Regions from separate parts of the Homo sapiens genome. Here region 2 is linked to region 1. The links are contacts of gene promoters, found by promoter capture Hi-C in human tissues and cell types (Jung and others, 2019). All regions are on one chromosome and are shown on one strand. Each heading gives the region's core, a stretch centred on a gene start or on the middle of the fragment in contact. The rest is flanking DNA. Distances are from core to core; before and after follow the strand shown. Region 1 holds the start of RSPRY1 (ring finger and SPRY domain containing 1). Region 2 overlaps NLRC5 (NLR family CARD domain containing 5).

Region 1 (3,751 bases), core at 398-2,897:
TTACAATGTTGAGATCAAATTACTTAGAGGAAAATTTCAGCTGTTAGGGGAAAATAATTCCTGAAGGAAAAGATATTACAGTGGTAACTCCTGCCAGCACCATAAGAAGTTCAAAGTAAATGAAAACTCTGAGAGCAAAAGCTGGAAATCCCACCATCCCCATCTAAGCAGGGTTTGAAACCATGGGTTTAGATCTTAATATGACCTAAGAAGCTGTGAACCTTGAAGCTTTCAGTACAATATGGCTCCCAGCACTCCGCAGGTGACAGACAACGACTGTATTAATCCCACCCCTTACCTCTACATACTACTTTACATTTTAGAAAGTGCCTTCACTTTTATTCCTCAACAGCAACCCGTTTGGTGGTAGAATCACACTAACTTACGTTCACGCAGCTTGTAATTTGTACTTTCACATACTGCGCTGGTTATTTTACAGTAGAGACTTAAGGAGGTTAAGTCACTCCACTAAGCAAGAACAGATGGTAGGTAAAGGGCCTGGAAAACTGCGGGATTCTACTCAGTCGATAACAGACACTTCTAACCCTTCAAAGTTCAAAGTACAACACTCCAGGGGGAGCAACCTCTCTCAGAGAACTATACAAGACAGGACCTCGGAGTCTCAGCCGACCGCCTCGGTCTCAGTCGGTTTCCCTCCCCAAAGACGGGGAAAGTGAGGCAGCAGGAGAGACAAATGCCTAATTTGGACTCACGCAAGGGGTGTTGGTGGGATAGACTCTCCCCACCCCACTCGGGCAATAAGCCCGGAAGCAGTTGGATCCTGTGTCTGGGACACCTGGTCGATCTACAGAGAGAGGGAATAATTCCCGTTTCCCTTTCACTACTCCCCACTCTGGCTTTCCTGTGGATGGAGGTGTCTTCTTCCCATCACCGCCCAGAAATCCCCTCTCCCCAAGGTCCTTACCCAATTTTCAGCTCCGGCTTCCGTAGTAGGACATTCCGCTAGTTCTAGCTCCTGCTTCCTAGCCCCATTCTCTCTCTATCCCAAGGCGTTTCTAAATCTCCCCGGGGAGGTATGCCTCATCCGTGCCACCTAGACCGTAAACTCCACAAAAAGAACCCTCCTAAAGCGTCCCTTCATCTACCCTTTCTATCCCGGGCACCCCTGAGTAGGTCAGGACCCCATCGGTACCAGGAGCCACCCCAGGAGATAGATAGCTGCCTCTCACCTGGGCCCTGTTAGCCGCAGCCTCCTCAGAAGGGCGACCCCCAAGAACCTCTTCTGGTGAGGACCCCCGAAAGAGGGAACACCCTCTTCTAGGAACCTCTTCAGATCCCTCAAGCGCGGGCCTCGGTGGAAAACCTCTCGGCTGTTTCTCAGGTTCTGACCAACGCCACCTCTCTCCCGGGCCCTTTCCAGAGCCTACCCCGGCCCCAGTCCGGTCCGCCCGCCCCAGGCTCGAGCGGCTGTTCCCCTCCCTCACAGACGTCCCCAACCCTCAGACTCCCTCCCGTTCCGCGTGCCCAGGGCTCAGAGCAGCGCGGTCGGGCTGTGGCACTGACTTTCTCTACCTCCCGGGCCCACCGGAGGGAGGGGGCGGCGGCGGCGGCGCGACTCCTTTGTGACAGGTCCGAGAGAACGGCAAAGATGGACGCGAGGCCACGGCGCTGCCATTACGCGCAGAGCCCACCCCCGCTTCGTACCGCCCCAGCCCTCCCTCAGTCCCCTAGGAAACGCCCCTTCCTCGGTGGCAAGCCCTCTCCTTGACAGCCAATCACCTTTCAAAAATCGTGTCACGTGATCAGCGGGACCGGCCCGCCCTCCAGGCGCAGACTGGCCAGTCCTCATCCTGAGGCGTGAATGGCCCAATCAAGTCTCTCCGGCTCGTTTTCAGGGTACCGGATTTCCATCGGGCTCCCGGGGAGGAAGAGCTCCGCGGATTGGGTTACGTCGCCGGAAGTGGGGCGGGACTCTATTGTGGCGGTGAGGAACAGGAAGCCCTGAAGGGTCAAAAGAAATACAAAAGCAAAGGCTATTTTCTTTTTTTTTTTCTTTCTTTCATTCATTCCTTCCTCTGTTTCTTTCTTTCTTCCTTTCATTTTTTTTTCTTTTTTAAGAGCGAGCGGCTCTGCGGTGGCGGTTTGGGGTGGGCGCCGCCGAGGTGAGGTCGTCTCGCCTCCCGCGCGCCGGTAGGTGAGTGCGGCCTCGGTCCTGGCCTGGCGGCGACACCTGGGTTCCAGCTTCCTTACGGAAGAGATGAGCTGCGGCTGCTGTTAGGGTTAGGGCCAGGCCTGTTCTCAGTCCGCGCACCCGCTCCTTGTCCGGAGTAGCCGAAGCCTGGGGCTTGCGGGCCCAGCCTGAGGGGAGCTGAGGGTGCCCGCGGGAAGGCATCTGGGTCGCGGCGAGGACCCTTTCAGGCGGGCCCAACACTGCCGGGCGTTTAATGGGGTTTCCCCAATTTTCTGCTAGGTAGGGCCACCCAGGTTTCAAGTGAGTAGCAGGCTCCGTTCCAGAGGTCTTGGAACAGGTCCAGGTTACTCACTCGGATGTGCGGCGTCTGGTTGGAAATGGTTGAATCCCAGAATGGCAGTGCAGGATGGGAAGCACATTTATTGTGTGCCATGTACCAGTTGCTGTGCCAAGCGAATTTTCTATTACGGAAAACAAGCCAGCTGGCCCGTTTTGCAGAAAACTTAAGAAACAAAGAGAGTTGAAGCGTCATGCTTGAGAGTTGGTGGTCCTTGTGACTGTCAGTCCACACAGAGGAAAGGGGGAGACCTGTTTGTTCGTAGTCGTGGTTCTTTAATGTTAGTGGAAAACAAGATCTCCTGGGGCCCTTTTAAAATGCAGTTTCTCAGACTCCCGCACGCTCGGGTAGCCCGACTGGTTAGTTCAGGAGTGGGACCCAAGAAGCCAGATGCGAGCCTGGTGATCGGAATTCCCGATGACCTCTTGCCTACCACCTGTGACATAAGATTTGTCGATTCATCAGTTATTTGGTGTATTCATGTGTCCACAGGGACACCATAAAATGGAAGGCACCCTTCTGAAATATTTGAAGGGAATCAGTGGGTAGACTCCTTTTTGATACAAAGTATTGAGCCGACAGCAGCTTTTACAGTCTTTTAGTTAGATGACCTGCGAACAATTTGTAAGGATCTGAAAGTAGAGGCTGCCCGATTATCTTTCTCAACTGAAGTCTTCATGTCCTTACCCTGTGGGGAAGTGCTTCATGATATAAGAAAGGAATAATTGTGTCAAAACCATTTAGTTGATTATCAGTCTTCACTTTCATCTTCCAAGAATGGTGATGCTTGGTTAGAATCAAGCTGCTGCTTTAGCTATTGAAAACCACGTATGTGGTAAATCAAGTAACAAGTGCGATGTACGTACAGGGTCAGTCATAGTGTAATTATGCCTTTATGGCAGCTAAATTAAGCATTTTCAACGTGTTCACCATTAGTCACCTTTTGAACATACTTTGTCTTCATTCTTAAATATTATGTTTCACTCTTTACTATAGAATATGTTGTTAAGATTGTTTTGTCTAAAATCAAGTATCGACAAGTTTAAAAAAAAGATTGTTTTGTGTTTGGTTTTCTGTATTTCCACTATGCTCTATGGAACTATGGGTTTGTTTTTGTTCAATTTGTTTGGTATTTATTAGACTTCTTGAATCTGTGGATTAGTGTCTTTCATTAATTCTGTAAAATTCTCAGCCATTTTATATGCATATATTGCTTCTTCCCATTGTTTCTCTTTTTTTTTTTATCGATTTAACTAAACCTT
Region 2 (3,751 bases), core at 612-3,111, 160 kb after region 1:
CAGTTGATAGGGGAGGCTTTGTGCGGTGAGACTGGCCAGCTCAGGCTCCTGTGTCTCATCCACACAGTGACACAGCTCTACAACCTTTGGCCCTGTGAGCTTGCGGGTGGCCAACTTCTTCAACACCTGCACTACAGCAGCCTGCTTGGCACCCACACAGTCCTCATTGCCCTGCGCCAGGTGGCTAAGGAAGGGGCGGCAGGTGCAGGATGCCAGGCCCGCCAGGAAGGTGGGGAGGTGGTCTGAGAGGCCCAGTCTAGCTTTGGTCCGCTGTACCCAGCGGGAATGGAGGGTAACATACTGGGTAAGTGTGTCTTTGTTCACCTTGGGGCTGGCCATCAGGTGCAGGGCAGCAAGAAACTCCTGCAGGCTGAGGTGGGTGAAAGCATAGCCTGTCTGCTGGTGCCCAGGGCCTGTGCAGACGCAGAAGGAAGTCAGCAGGCTGTGAGTGGCCCCAAAAGCTATCAAGGGTGGAGCAATATCTTTTGCATAGAAGATAACCTTCCCTGTCTCCAGGCCCCTCAGGGCCACCTCCCCCAGGTCCAGTAGGGACGAGGTGGGCAAGTGCCCAGGGGGGCTGAGGGCGAGCACCATCTGCATATAGAGCTGAGTCATGTTGGGCAGGAGGGCCACAGACTGGCCTGGGGCGTGGTCAGGAAGCAGATGGTGGAGGCAGAGACAGGCGACTTGGCACAGTGCGGGCACCGCACACAGGCTTCGGAGACGTCCATTTGTCTGTAACTCCACCAGGGCCCCCTCCCGCGATGGCTGGGCGCTGAAGAAGTGATTCACATATTCTTCCACCCGTGGCCCATCAAAGCCCAACATGTGGACCATGGCTGCCTCTGCAGGCAGGCAGGCAGGCAGCTTCCCTGGACGGGAGGTAGCCATCACCCGGCAGCCAGGCAGGAGGGTCCCATTGCAGAGATGGGAGAAAAGGGTGAGGACTGGGCCTGGGCCATCAGGACCCATAGGCTGGAGGGCCTCATCTAGCCCATCAAAGATCAGCAGGACTTGGTCAGCGTTCTTCTCCAGGTACTGGAAGACAGTGTCGTGGTCCGATTCAGGGCTCAGGTACAGATCAAAAAGGAGCTCGGACGGTGTCAGGAACCTCGTGATCAAGTTGAGCTGGCGGAATTCAAAAAGGAACAGGGCCTGGAAACAGTTCAGATGGCCCTCTGCCCACTTCTGGCAGAGCCGGTGGGCCAGCGTGGTCTTGCCCATGCCAGCCTTCCCCAAAAGCACGGTCACCCTCGGGCCCTTGTTAACCCTGGTGTTGAAGAGGTCCGAGATGCTCACGTCAGCACCATCTTCCACCTTGACGTCCCCCATAATGGCCCCCTCCGGAGTGTCTAAGGATGCTGTGGCCCGGCGCAGGATTGGAGGGACATAGACCTGGTGGAAGGCGTGGGGCTGCCCTGACCCAGGGATTTGGCTCCTGTAGCGCTGCTGGGCAGAGGTCCGCAGGAGCTGCAGGTACTTCTTGGCCAACTCTGCAAGGGGCAGGGACATGGCATGAGGAGAGGACCCCCCGGCCCTCTGCTCATGTCTTCTTGCCCCAGTATTGGGCTGTTGGGAGCCTGTAGCCCCAGATGTGTATGTATGATGGGGTGAGGGTGGGGGTGTCAAGAGCACCATAGGGGGATCTGTGCCACCCCAACTTCCAGAAGGAATCAGTTCTAAGGGAGCATAGGCTCTCCGGTAGCTATTTAAACAGGCAGGTGGGAATGGGGAAGTGTGGGTCACGGTTCTATCCATTCTGCAATAGTACACGTGGTGTAAGGGTTCAGTAAGATGGGGGGAGGGGAATAGGGCACCTCCTTTGCAACATCTCTTTTTTTTCTTTTTTCCCAGAGACAGAGTCTCAGTCTTGCCCAGGCTCCAGTGCAGTGGCACGATCCTAGCTTACTGTAGCCGCAAACTCCTGGTCTCAAGTGATCCTCCTGCCTCAGCCTCCTGAGTAGCTGGGACTACAGGTGCACACCACCACACCCAGCTAATTTTTGTATTTTTAGTAGAGACAAGGTTTTGTCACGTTGGCCAGGCTAGTATTGAATTCCTGGGCTCAACTGATCCACCTGCCTCAGCCCTCCAAAGTGCTGGGATTACAGGTGTGAGCCACCGCGCCCAGCTACTTTGCAATATCTTATTGAAACAACCTCTTTCTGTAATATCTGGATCCCCAGTGCCTCTTCCCAATATTTCAGTTCTGCAATGCCCAGGGGTGAGCACTAACAACCTGTAGGCCTAGGCATTACCGATCGGAACTGTGGGAGCTGGGCCCCTACAGTGCCAGATGTTAACCTTTTAATTCCTGGGTCATTGAGAGGTCTCAGGTGACCCAGGGAAAGGGCTGGGGCTGCTTTTGGGGGAACCCTATGGGGAAAGGCCAAGGTAGTGAACTATTTTGAGCGGATGTGAATCCTCTGGTTATAGCCATGGTTGGCAGCAGTGGGGGCAGAGAAGGCTCTAGTTAGTGGGACAACTCGTGGAGAACGAGGACCATTCTGAGAACTGGTCAAGAATGAGAGAAGTCCCCTTTCTTCTCTCACTGGCCTGGCCTGCCCTAAGCAGCTCCATGTCTCCCCATGGGCCCCCAGGGCCTCTGTCTTGAAGGTTTCTCCCAGGCCTCCTCACCCCTCCCCATCCCTGCTCACCCCCAAACTGGTCTCCTCCCTGGGTCTCCTTCAACACTGAGGACATAGGGTGTCCCTGGAAAAGCCTGGACAGCGAAGCTGAGACCTGTATGGTGCTTCCAGCTCCTTCAGCGGAGCCCTCTTCAGAGAAGTCCCCATGCAGCCAGATGGGTGGGGAGCCCCTTCGCTGCCAGCCCAGGCCTCTCCTCTGCCTGTGCAAGACCTCCAGTCCTTTTCTCCTGGAAACTTGCGAGACAAGAGTCACTGGGCCTCTGGAGGCTTATTGGCAGGGGACAAGGTCCAGGGTCCGGGTCTTGGCCCCCAGGCAACCCCATCTCTCTGTTTATGTTCCTCCCCACACTGGTACCCACCTAGCTGCTGCTTCTTGCACTGCTTCCGGCGGGGTGAGGACCCACAGCTCTGATGTGGGCGCTTCAGGCCTGAAAAAGCAAAGGAAGGGGTGGAGGAGTGGGGTCTGGGGATCTGGGCTGAGGGGTTACCCAGAACCTTTGGGGAACTCCAGTCCACAGACAGGTGGCAGGCAGCCAAGTACACCCACATGCAGGGACTGGAAAGGCAGGCAGCAGGCAGAGGCTGGGTCAACACCAGCTTCTATTTGCAGAGTGGACTTCTAGGCACCCCCATTGGAAGGTGGATGTTCTGGGCCTGGCAGTCTTGCAGTCCAGGATGCAGGAAGCAGGGCCAACAGCCAGCAGCCCCCAGAAACACTCAGCTCCAAGCACTAAATGGCCATCTGTCCATCAGGGAAGGACCAAGCTCTATGGAAGCCGCCGGTGGTCATATAAGTGAAGTTCCCAGTGAGTTTGGCCAGGCCTGCAACCTCCCTCCTCTGTTAGGGTTTTATCATCCCGATTTCTTATCACCCACATTTCCTCACTTCCCTTAATAGTTTCTGGAGTCTTGTCTCATTGTATGGATTTTCAACAATCACTTTAATGCCTTTCTGGAAGAGTTTGAGAAAGGAAGAAGGAAAACAAGAAGGAAGGGGACCCAGAAAGGAAGGGAGGGAGAAAGGAAAGAGGACTCAGGAAAGAATTTTAAGAAGTCAAGCAGGGTCCTCCTACAGCTAAGCTAAGTGACCAATAGGAACAGCC

Evidence for each region. The method cuts DNA at HindIII sites, captures the fragments that hold promoters and counts their contacts. A contact is called where the count stands out against the background at its distance.
Region 2: a fragment that was not itself captured here is called in contact with the fragment with the promoter of RSPRY1 in region 1 in 2 of the 25 tissues and cell types used here (lymphoblastoid cells and spleen).

What each region holds. Positions count from the first base shown.
Region 1 is chr16:57,184,225-57,187,975 of GRCh38, reverse strand. It overlaps RSPRY1 (ring finger and SPRY domain containing 1), which reads right to left and starts at 1,647. Exons shown (of 15, transcript NM_133368.3): 1 at 1,525-1,647. It overlaps PSME3IP1 (proteasome activator subunit 3 interacting protein 1), which reads left to right and starts at 1,937. Exons shown (of 7, transcript NM_024946.4): 1 at 1,937-2,155. RefSeq lists enhancers at 307-951, 2,263-2,312 and a silencer at 1,353-1,562. The HindIII fragment of the contact is 6,609 bases long and covers 1-3,751 here.
Region 2 is chr16:57,023,110-57,026,860 of GRCh38, reverse strand. NLRC5 (NLR family CARD domain containing 5) reads right to left here. Exons shown (of 49, transcript NM_001384950.1): 5 at 3,008-3,076; 6 at 1-1,493. Among named protein-coding and RNA genes, the nearest start is that of NLRC5, 35 kb to the right of the region's middle. RefSeq lists an enhancer at 1-410. The HindIII fragment of the contact is 7,248 bases long and covers 1-3,751 here.